3 separate regions of the Homo sapiens genome follow, and regions 1 and 2 are each linked to region 3. Evidence: promoter capture Hi-C in 16 types of primary human blood cells and fetal thymus (Javierre and others, 2016). All regions are on one chromosome and are shown on one strand. The core of a region is centred on a gene start or on the middle of the fragment in contact, and the rest is flanking DNA. Distances in the headings are between cores, read along the strand shown. Region 1 has its middle 31 kb from the start of LYZL4. Region 2 overlaps LYZL4 (lysozyme like 4). Region 3 holds the start of CCK (cholecystokinin).

Region 1 (3,242 bases), core at 242-2,741, 180 kb after region 3:
TCTTGGCTTGGCTTTTGAATTTGGAAAGTCAACTTTGAGTTGTAAGAACCCAAAGGAAATTTACAGGTAACCTAGAAACTTCCAAGGCCTGAGATATAGATCAGGGCTAGTTTTGCCTGCTTCAGAAGAGAGGAAGTTTCTCAGGGCAGAGGTGGGGAGAGAATGATAAGGGGCAGCAAGAGAGAAAGAAAATAGGAGCTTCCCTGAAAATGGCCCTGCTCCCCAACCCACCCACCTGTCACCAATAGGGGATGAAGAATACAGCAGAGACCTCAGATGGGTGCAGAGTGGGGTGGGGGATCCTAGGGACCATGCCTAGAGCTGCCAGATAAAATGCAATGTTTGGGGCTGGGCAGGGTGGCTCACGCATGTATTCCCAGCAGTTTGGGAGGCTGAGGCAGATGGATCACTTGAGGTCAGGAGCTTGAGACCAGCCTGGCCAACATGGTGAAACGCCCCCTCTACTGAAAATACAAAAATTAGCTGGGCATTGTGGTGCATGCTTGTAATCCCAGCTACTTGGGAAGCTGAGGCAGGAGGATCGCTTGAACCTGGGAGGTGGAGGTTTCAGTTTGCCAAGATTTTGCCACTGCACTCCAGCCTGGGTGACAGAGCAAAACTCCGTCTCAAAAAAAAAAAAAAAAAAGCAATATTTGGGACATACTTACAATAAAAAACTACTTATCGTTTACCTGAAATTCAAATTTAACCGGGTGATATGTATTTTTATTTGCTAAATCTGGCATCCCGATTTGCACCTCCTTTCTAGGGGAAACCTAAAGAGCCTCCTCACCCCAGCAGGTGAGGAAGACAAAGACAAAGAAGCGATGCTGGGGAGAGAAACCATGGGGTGCCTGGCGGAGCCTGCAACAGGAGAAGGAAAAGCTCTGCCTCCGAGGAAGCATGAGACTCCACTTCTGGGTGAGGGCTTAGAAGTCGAAATGAGGAGGACGCAGTTGCCACCTGCAGGGAGCATTCCATGGGCGTCAGAGGGGTGACAGTTTCATCAGACAACACCAGTAGGGATTGATAGGGTCATGCAGACAAGATTGCACATGCATGCACACACACCATGTGCCTCCACACAAAAACAATAAAAGTCCATACTTACTGAGCACTTGCTATCCCAGGAACTGTTCACAGAACTTGATGCTTACTATTTTCTAAGTGCATTATATTCTCTTCTGTCAGCTCTTCTAATCCTTGCAACAGTCCTATGAGGTAGGCATTTTTATCTCCATTTTCCTCATGAGGGAACAGAAGCAAAGAAGTCATGTGAGTATCCCAGACTCACCTAGTTGGCAGGTGGCAAAACTGGAGTGTGAGCCCAGCAGTTTGGTTCCTGAATCTGTACCCTTAAACTTCCGTACTCTGCAATCTGTATCACTTGGGGTTGAGTGTGACCGCAAGTAACCAAAAACCCCAATTCACAGTGGCCAAAACACAGAATTTTATTTTATTTTGTTAAACAACAACAACAAAATTCCAGAGGCAGGCAGGTCAGGACTGTTGTAACAGTTCCATAAAGCTCCTTCTGGAATTCCCTCTGCGTTCACTGCAGGTGACTTTCAAACTTGTGGTCCAAGAGGGCTGCTGGAGCCTCAGCCATTATATATGTGTTCCAAGCAGCAAGAGGGAGGAAGGAGGAAAAAGAGCAGTTCTTTCCCTCTTCTGGAAAGTCACATATGCCATCTCTTAGTGACACAGTCTCATCTTGCTGCAAGAGAAGCTGGAGTAAGTAATCACTTGGCTGATTGGCAGTGTGCCCAGCTACAATCAGGAATAAAAGAAGAAAATGACTGTTGAGAATTGATAACATTCCCTGTTACACAGCCTCTGGAATTTTAAAGTCCCTGGAATTATAGGTCTGTAGTAGATTTTACCGCTGCCCAAATCTCTCCCCCAGCTCACCATGGATGGAGCCAACAAAGTAGGGTGTGCGGCATCTTAAGGTATCTGCAAAGGGCTGAGGAGGCTGGAGGCTGAGATACAGAGAAGTTCCCAGGAATCTGCCCCCAATTCCTCTACCTCCCATTTTGAAGCAAATCACTGTTCTGATTTCTATCACGATAGGTTAGTTTGCATTTTCTAGAGCTTCATATAAATGGGATCATAGAGCATAACCTCTTTTGTGTCTGGGTTCTCTCATTCAGCATTATGTCTGTGAGATTCATTCCTGTGGGGTGCATCAGTCATTCATTTCTTCTTATTGCTGTGAGGTGTATTCCATTACAGGAATACACCATAATTTGTCCATTCATCTGTTGAGGGACACCTAGTGTGTTTCCAGTCTTGAACTATTATGAATAAAATCTCACGAATATTTTTGCACAATACTGGATGCGGATATTGCTTTTCACTGCTGTTGATTAAATGCCTAGGAGGATAATTATAGGACAGATCGACCTAAGTTATAAGGCAAGTAAACACTTAACTTTTTACGTAACTGTCAAGTAATTTTCTGAAGTGGTTGTAGCATTTCACACTCCTCCAGGCGGTCTATGAGTGTTCCAGTTGCTCCACATGGTGAGTTCTCAGAGGAGTCCCAAGGGCTGGCACCATATCCTTACCTGGGCCTTGAGGGCCTGGTCCTGGCTAGGTCAGCACATGGAGCTCCAGCCTGGGAGGCTGTGGCAGCGTCTCCTGCAGGGCAACCACAGCAATGCATGGGCTGAGGGATTCCAGAGCAGGAGCCCGCTGCAGCAGCCTTGTGATGTGAGGGCAGTGCAAGGCAAAGACATTGCCAGTACCATGGAGATGGTGAGCCCACCACAGCGAGTGCTCAGGAGTCTCCTGCCATCATTGGCATCAGCAGTAGTCTGCCAGGAATGCAGGAACACATCAAGATGTGTGAAGGGGGATTAGGCGATGCATTTTGGACACTCAGGATGGGCACCAAAGGGAAGTAATGGCCCCAGAAGAGTGCCAGCAATGCCTCCCTCGCAAATCCCCACATATTCTAAGCAGCCAGGCTGCAGGACTGCTTCTCATTTGGAGTGGAAGTAATTTGCAAGAGTGGTGGGAGCTGTTTCTCCCAGCTGCAGAAAATATTAACGTCTTGTGGAAGACTCTTTCAGCAGAATCTTAGGTCCATGGGTCACGAAGTCTGGAAAGTTGACAAGGCTTTGGGGTGGTGTGATGAAGAAGCATCTCTCTTTGTATTTTTTCTGATTTTGCTGTCTTCCTTCTTCATCAGAAAACACGTACTCTGCCATGGGCTGTAGCTAGTGACAGCAACATGG
Region 2 (3,506 bases), core at 796-3,295, 130 kb after region 3:
GATCTCAACTGCAAGTGCCACTGCCAGTAATTTTACTGTATGATTCATGCTGTGTGGTTGGGGAATATAGAATACCCTCTTCTCTAGAGAGGAGGGAAAGCCACACAAAACTGTTTGATTAAGCTCAACAGTCGTTACTGAACTTGAGTAAAAGTTCTGTCTCTGAAATTCTAACTTACAGCCATTTCTTCCTTCTGAAAGTAACCAAGGTTAAGACAAAAAGAAAGGCTGAATTGATTTGGATCTTGCCTGCCTTTCACGTAGCCACTTTTTACCTAATTTCTTCAATTTTTTTCTAAATTACAAAGAGTAACAATAAAGAGTTATATACATCATAGTTTGTCTATATAATGGAAAGCTGTGCCGTTGTTAAAAATGGTGCTAGGATCCCTGCTGTAGACCTGGAAATATTAGATCACAAAATATTGAGTGAAAAAAGGAAGATACAAAACTGTATGTTTAGTAGTAGTCCATGTCTGTAAGGGGAAAAATGTGCACACACACGAAAGCAGGGAAGATATACACACGAAAAGTTTCTTTTCCTAAGTCAGGATTGCCCACTTTAGCAACATGACAATGATGAAAACTTCTGTTTCCAGTGAGGGGATATTCTTAATTTCCTTTTTTATGACTACTTATGCTACCCAGGTTTTCTTCATTAAATATATGTTGTTGGGGTAATTTTTAAAATGTGAGAAATAAAAAGGGGCAGCCCCAAACAGGGACTTCAGCACTCTTTGTAATGGTTTTTAAAATGGCAATACCTAAAGATCTAACATGGCCAAGATCGGTGGCTCACACCCCTAACATTTTGGGAGGCGAGGCGGGTGGATCACTTGAGGTCAGGAGTTCAAGACCATCCTGGCCAACATGGTGAAACCCCGTCTTTACTAAAAATACAAAAATTAGCCAGGTGTTGTTGGTGCGTGCCTGCAATCCCAGCTACTCGGGAGGCTGAGTCAGAAGAATCGCTTGAACCTGCGGGGTGGAGGCTGCAGTGAGCCGAGATCGCGCCATTGCACTCCAGCAATGGGTGACAGAGCAAGACTCTGTCTCAAAAAAAAGAAAAGAAAAAAAGAAAACATCTAAGAGTAGAGCAAAAGTTAAATAAAATATGGTGTGTCATATACTGAAATACTCACTGGCACTAAAATTTCACTTTGAAGAACTACAACACCATGGTGAAGCACATGTGACTGACAGGCTTTCTCCATACTACTCTAGTTCTTTTCTTCCTGTATGAGGACTGAAAGGTGAAGAACTATGTTCTCCAACCCCCATGATGGTGTGGGTCCCATAGGTGACCTGACCTGCTGAGCAGATACCTGTGCTCTTGCTGCTGCTGCTACCAGATCTCAGGCAGGTGTGTCCAGGAAGCCCAGGCTGACAGCTGTACTCCATCCCATGAAATAAGCTGTAAGCCACTAAGCTTTTAAAATAAGCCCCTTGCTACTTAAAGTTGAAACAGATGTAGGGGAAAAGTGTCTTACCTTATTTGTTTGTTTTCTTTCTAAAAAGTCAGATGCAAAACTCTCTAACTACAACATTATCATGGCATTTTTGAAAAAGAATAAAAAACCTATACAGAAAAAAGATCAGCAGGAAATGCAACCAAAACATAACAGCAATTGTCTTTGAGTACTGAGATTATAGGAAAATTTTTCTCCTTTTTAACATTTCTGTATTTTCCCAAATTTCTCTAATGCAAATATGTGTTATTTATAACTTTCAGAGACTTTTTATAAGAAATGAGCAACTGTCATTTGATTCCCTTCATAGACGTGCAAAGAGGATTCTGTGGTCTCTCCCTTCCCCGTGTGTCCCAGTGTGGACACGCCTTGGCTGAAGGCCCTGCTTGTGCCAGCCTCTCTTCCTCTCTTCTTTCCTCTTTGGTTCCACTGTACCTGTTCTTCCTTTTCCTGTTTAGTATTGACATTCATGGACACATCTTGTTTTTCAGATAATTTCCTTCCTTCAATTCCTCCATATGAGATTAAATAATAATAAATCACAATAATAGTAAATAATGGTGATTACAGAAATAATCATAATCAAAGCAGAGACCTTTGGCCCAAGTTGAGTAACTAGTTTGGTTTATTCTGCATCCTGCATCCCCGGATGAAGCAAACTTTTGTCTTTTTCCATCTGGAACTCTTAAAGTGGTGAGATCATCAAAAGGATTGACTGAAGCAGCAAGCAGAAAAGCACCTTCATTCACAAGATGCAACTGGTGAGTGCTGCAGGGGCCATGCAGGTGGCTACAGCTTGCAACCATCCAGCCACCGTGCCAGGGTATCGGAGTACTGGCAGTACCGGGACCAGGTGGGCCTGTGGAGAGAAGTGAACAGGAAGGGCTCCTCAAAGTCAGAACTCAGGGTCTCCAGGGCTTCACAGCCCCATTCAGGCCATTTACACCTGCCTGCCCCTTGGAGCCTTTGAGTTTTCCACCTCTGCCGTGGGCACGATTCTGAAGGCTTTTGTGCATCTCCAGTGCTGTCTTCATCACATCCTGGCTTGAATACTGGTGCTTCCTCCATCCTAGTGCCCACATCAGCCCCCAACTCATTCCATAAACCCCACATGGTGAGATGAGGAGGCTGAACTGTGAACTGTGAAATTCTCCCCCAACCCTGCAACGGAGGTATCATTTGCTTCTCTGAAGTAAGCTTCAGAGAAGTTCCGTGACTTTCCCAGAGTCACATGATGAGTCTTTGGCAGACCCTAGGCCTGCAAATAGAACCTTTGTCCCCTGGGCCAGGGCCCCTTTCACCTTTCCACGTACCTGCTCCGCTCTTCACCTTCCAAAATTCCTTCCAACTCTTTAGCCCCACCTAAGTCAGCTGCACTGAGTTTCTCTAACCTTTTCTCCTGGTGCCTGTCAAAGTGATTCCCTTGTTCTGGGTCCCCATGCCAGCACCCAGACTTCAGGTTCTCCAGTCCCTACCTGCAGGGTGGGGAGTCACTCAGGCCAGCTGTACGCCATTAGAAATCCTGTTTCGTCATCCCACCCCTCAGCGGGCCGGTTTCCACGGGTCTTCCAGGATAGGAGGTCCCACAGTGCAAGACAGGGCTGTGGACCTCTGGCCCCTCATAGTTACAGAGTGGCAGGGAAACATACACACAGGTATTTTCAGAAATCCCAAGGCTCTCCATAGCTCAGGGCAGACATTGCAGAAGGGACTCCTTGGGGCCATGTGTGATCTTAGTCTTCTCCCTTCCTGTCTGCCCCAACCCTGCAGAGCTGACCAACCGAGCTTTGGAGAACACGTGGCTGCCTGTTAGCTTAATTAGCTTCCTTCACTGGGAACCTCAGCAATAAGAAGGCCTTGATCTGCCTGGCTTAGCATAGCTCCACTCAGTGCCATACACTAAATATGGTTTTAGTTCATTAGGGCTTACTCTAAAGAATCAGCCAAGCTTCCACATTAACTGGAAACTCGGACCATATATGAAAGGTATTTCAAACACTCCAAAGTCAGTTAACATTAATAAGGGGACTTTCACTT
Region 3 (3,570 bases), core at 419-2,918:
CCCAGACCTCACTTTTAGACCCAGAGCCGTTATTTCTGACTTCAAGAAATGTCTTTCGAGCTCTCGGAGGGAAGACACAGAAAATAGAAAAGCATAATGGAAATGGGCACAAAGCTGAAGACAGCATCCTTCAAAGACACACGACACTTGGATCCCCCGCTGACGAACCGAGGGACCTACCTTTTGGATTAGGACGCAGCTGGCTTGGCGTTTCCAACCGGAGCAGCCCGGCAGCTGAGCCAAGTTCAGGGAGGACCAGCGGGCGGCTGTCTCTTAAATAGCCCCACCCGGCGGCGTCGGCCAGTCATGTATTTACCCAACGCTGACGCAGACTGGCAGTAACACGTGCTCAGAGGGCGGCCACTGGGGCGACAACCGGTTGAAGTGGCTCCTGGGAGAGAGGGGGAGGTGGTCTAGTGGGGTGGAGTTAATCCCTCCCACGCGCGGTGCCGGGTGTCCGCCCCCTCTGGGTCCGAGAAGCTTCCGCCCAACCCTTTCCAGGTGCCGCTCCCCTGCGCATTCCAGAGCAGTACTCTCCAAGGTGGGAAACCTAGGAGTTTGGAGTCTCCTCCGGGATGGAGAAGCTGCCGCTAGCTTAGTTCGCTTTGGGGACCGGAGGGGCTAGAAAGGAAACTGGGGGCGGGGGTGGGGGGTGGACACTGGGCAGGACTGAGCATCAGCAAGGCGTGATTCTGAAAGGGAGGGGGCGTCGGCCCCCTACCCCGGAGCGTCCGAGGCGCTGGTCTTCATACCTGTGTCGGCTCTTTCGAAGGAGAGAGGAGGAGTCGGGGTCTTCACTTTCTTCTCAGCCGCATTAAAAGCCCTCGCAGTTCTCCAGGTTTCCGAGGGCCAGTGTTCTGGGTCAGTGAAAGGGCTCTGGCCACAGCTGGCTCTTGGTGTCCTGGGCCTCTCTTGACGCAGCTGTAAAATGCGGATGACACCATCTGGTTTTGCTCAGAGGAATCCGGTTTGGGAAAGGGATGTGTTTTCTTCCCGGGCCAAGTTACCACCACCCGCGGCGCCCACTGTTCCCCGTTGTCGACAAGCGGCGCCAGCGAGGGTCCTGGGGAACTTGACCACCGCACCCCCGCAAGCTCGGGTAGACCACGGCATCCGCCCCTCGCACCTTTCCTGAGGGCCCACACACTCACACCCCCAGGACAGTACCTTCCAGAACTCAGCTGCGCAGCCTGGAGGTGAGGACCTCACCCCTAGTCAGTCACCCGTCCGGTGGAGGGAAGGGAGGCACCGAGGCTGCCGTGCGCCTTTCCCTGCACGCGGTTACTCTCCCGGCTCCGGAGCGGGCCGACCTGGAGCCCCTCAGTGCGCTCTGGTCGTCTACACCCTGAAACCCTTTGAGTTCGAGTCCGCTTGCTGGTGCTTGAGTTCGCCGCGTCCCTGCAAAGGCACTGCCAACCCCATTTCACAGACCGCAAACCGAGGCGCGAGGAAGAGCAGCGCCTTGCCAAGGCTCCACAACACGCCCCTCGCCCTCTCCGTGCACCGAGGCCGCCCAGCCTGGGACCTGGAGATCACCAGGCCTTGAACCTTGGGACCTCAACTCCTCTCCCTTTCTTTCCCCCACCCGTCTTAGATGCAAGGAGAAAGATTTAGAAGCGCTTATTTTAAAATCGGAATCCGTATTCCGCTCTGGAATTCCCTCTGGAATGGAGGGACTGTGGCAACGCCAGTGTGAGGGTGGAGTGGGCGAGGCGGGGTGGGGGGGTTGGGGGGGCGGCCCAGAGACGCCTCCGGTTGCTGCTCCACTTTCTAATCCTGAGAGGCAGCTGCGTTTCTGCAACCTATGGGCAACATGTTTGAAAGAGCTGAAGCTGATTAAATGCTTTCCAGTGGTTTCGCCACGAGCCTGCTAAGGTTTGTGTAGTTCAGTTGCGAAAAAGAGTCTTATTTGTGATTGTGGCAAGACATGTCTGGAAACATAAACTTGTTATCGAAATACCCCCAGAGCTTCTAATTCAGTAGGTCTGAGGAAGGGCCCAAGAATCCGAATTCCTTCCTTCCTTCCTTCCTTCCTTCCTTCCTTCCTTCCTTCCTTTCTTCCTCCTTCCCTCCTTCCCTCCCTCCCTCCCTTCCTTCCTCCCTCCCTCCCTCCCTTCCTCCCTCCTTCCCTCCCTCTCTCCCCTTCCCTCTTTCCCTCTCTCCCTTCCTTCCTTCCTTCCTTCCTTCCTTCCTTCCTTCCTTCCCTCCCTCCTTCCTTCCTTCCTTCCCCCCTCCCTCCCTCCGTCTCTCCTTCTCCCTCTTTCCCTCTTTCTCTCTCTCTTTCTTTCTTTCTTCTTTATTTCTTTCTTTCTTTCTTCATTTCCTTCCTTCCTTCCTTCCTTCCTTCCTTCCTTCCTTCCTTCCTTCCTTCCTTTCCTTGCCTTTCCTTCTTTGAGACAGAGTCTCACTCTGTCGCCCAGGCTGGAGTACAGTGGCATGATCTCGGCTCACTGCAACCTCTGCCTCCCAGGTTCAAACGATTCTCCTGCCTCAGCCTCCCCAGCGGCTGGGATTACAGGCATGTGCAGCCATGCCTGGCTAATTTTTATATTTTTAGTAGAGACAAGGGTTCACCATGTTGGCTAGGTTGGTCTCGAACTTCTGACCTCAGGTGATCTACCCACCTTGGCCTCCCAAAATGCTGGGACTACAGGCGTGAGCCACCACGCCCCACCAAGAATCTACATTTCTAACAAGTTCCCAGGCCATACTGAAAATGCTAGTCCGCCAAGCACACTTTGAGATCATTTCTATAGAAATTCCCTACCTTATACCAGTTACTCAACTCCTGGCCTTGATCCATTTAATTCATGTTTATTCAACACTTACTTTGTGCCAGGCCCCAGGGATTCAGTATGAACAAGAGCTGACAATACAATAGGGGAGCTGAAGCAAACAAGTGGACAAACACTTCTCAACAATTCTGATATTTGGGGACTATGGAGTGGAGATGGTAGGAGGTAATCTTGGAGAAATGTTTTGGTGAGGGGAGCTAGGTGGTAATATGGAAGATGCCCAAAAGGCAGAGGGACTGGAAGGGGAGGGCTGGATAGGAGGCCCTCGGGGATGGGCAAGCAGGAACAATCAAGGTAGATTTGTTTTAGAATAATAAGCCATTATGAAACCCATTAATTATTAGGAAACATAATAAACATTATGCAAGTCATAAGTGTTCATCAGAGAACATTCAGAAAACAAAAGTAGAGAAAAGAAGAAAAATTCCAGCCTCCCAGGGAACAACCTGTTGCTGCTCAGGAAACTGGTAGAGGGAACCGGACTTGGTGACTGAGACTGACCTTGAGTTTCCAGGCTGGGAGACAAGGGTGGGTGGTAGAGTATTATCCAAGACAGGGAATTCAGAAGGAAAAGCAGGCTTGGAGTGTGGCCGTGGTGGTAGTGGGCCAGTGGGGAGCGGGTAATGAGTCCAGTATGGGATTGGTTGATCGTTTGTGCATTGACAGTCTAGGAGGAGTTTGGGAGCCTTTGTCCTGAGCAGAGAGACACTGGAGGGGTGGACCCAGAGTCTGGCATGTGGGTGGTGGCTGCCAGCCTGGGAGTTATAGGGAGAGT

Evidence for each region. Contacts are between HindIII fragments. The CHiCAGO score rates a contact against its expected background, and 5 or more counts as called.
Region 1: a contact is called between a fragment that was not itself captured here and the fragment with the promoter of CCK in region 3, in 15 of 17 cell types (naive CD8 T cells, naive CD4 T cells, fetal thymus and 12 more). The highest score is 18.2, in naive CD8 T cells.
Region 2: a fragment that was not itself captured here is called in contact with the fragment with the promoter of CCK in region 3 in 2 of 17 cell types (naive CD8 T cells and naive CD4 T cells); the score reaches 5.5 in naive CD8 T cells.

The regions. Positions count from the first base shown.
Region 1 is chr3:42,440,235-42,443,476 of GRCh38, forward strand. No RefSeq gene overlaps it. Among named protein-coding and RNA genes, the nearest start is that of LYZL4, 31 kb to the left of the region's middle. The HindIII fragment of the contact is 4,095 bases long and covers 1-3,242 here.
Region 2 is chr3:42,395,007-42,398,512 of GRCh38, forward strand. It overlaps LYZL4 (lysozyme like 4), which reads right to left. Exons shown (of 5, transcript NM_144634.4): 5 at 2,077-2,328. The coding sequence ends at 2,259. Among named protein-coding and RNA genes, the nearest start is that of LYZL4, 14 kb to the right of the region's middle. The HindIII fragment of the contact is 1,237 bases long and covers 1,428-2,664 here.
Region 3 is chr3:42,264,517-42,268,086 of GRCh38, forward strand. CCK (cholecystokinin) reads right to left here and starts at 1,669. Exons shown (of 5, transcript NM_000729.6): 1 at 1,168-1,669; 2 at 753-921; 3 at 181-391. The HindIII fragment of the contact is 3,723 bases long and covers 479-3,570 here.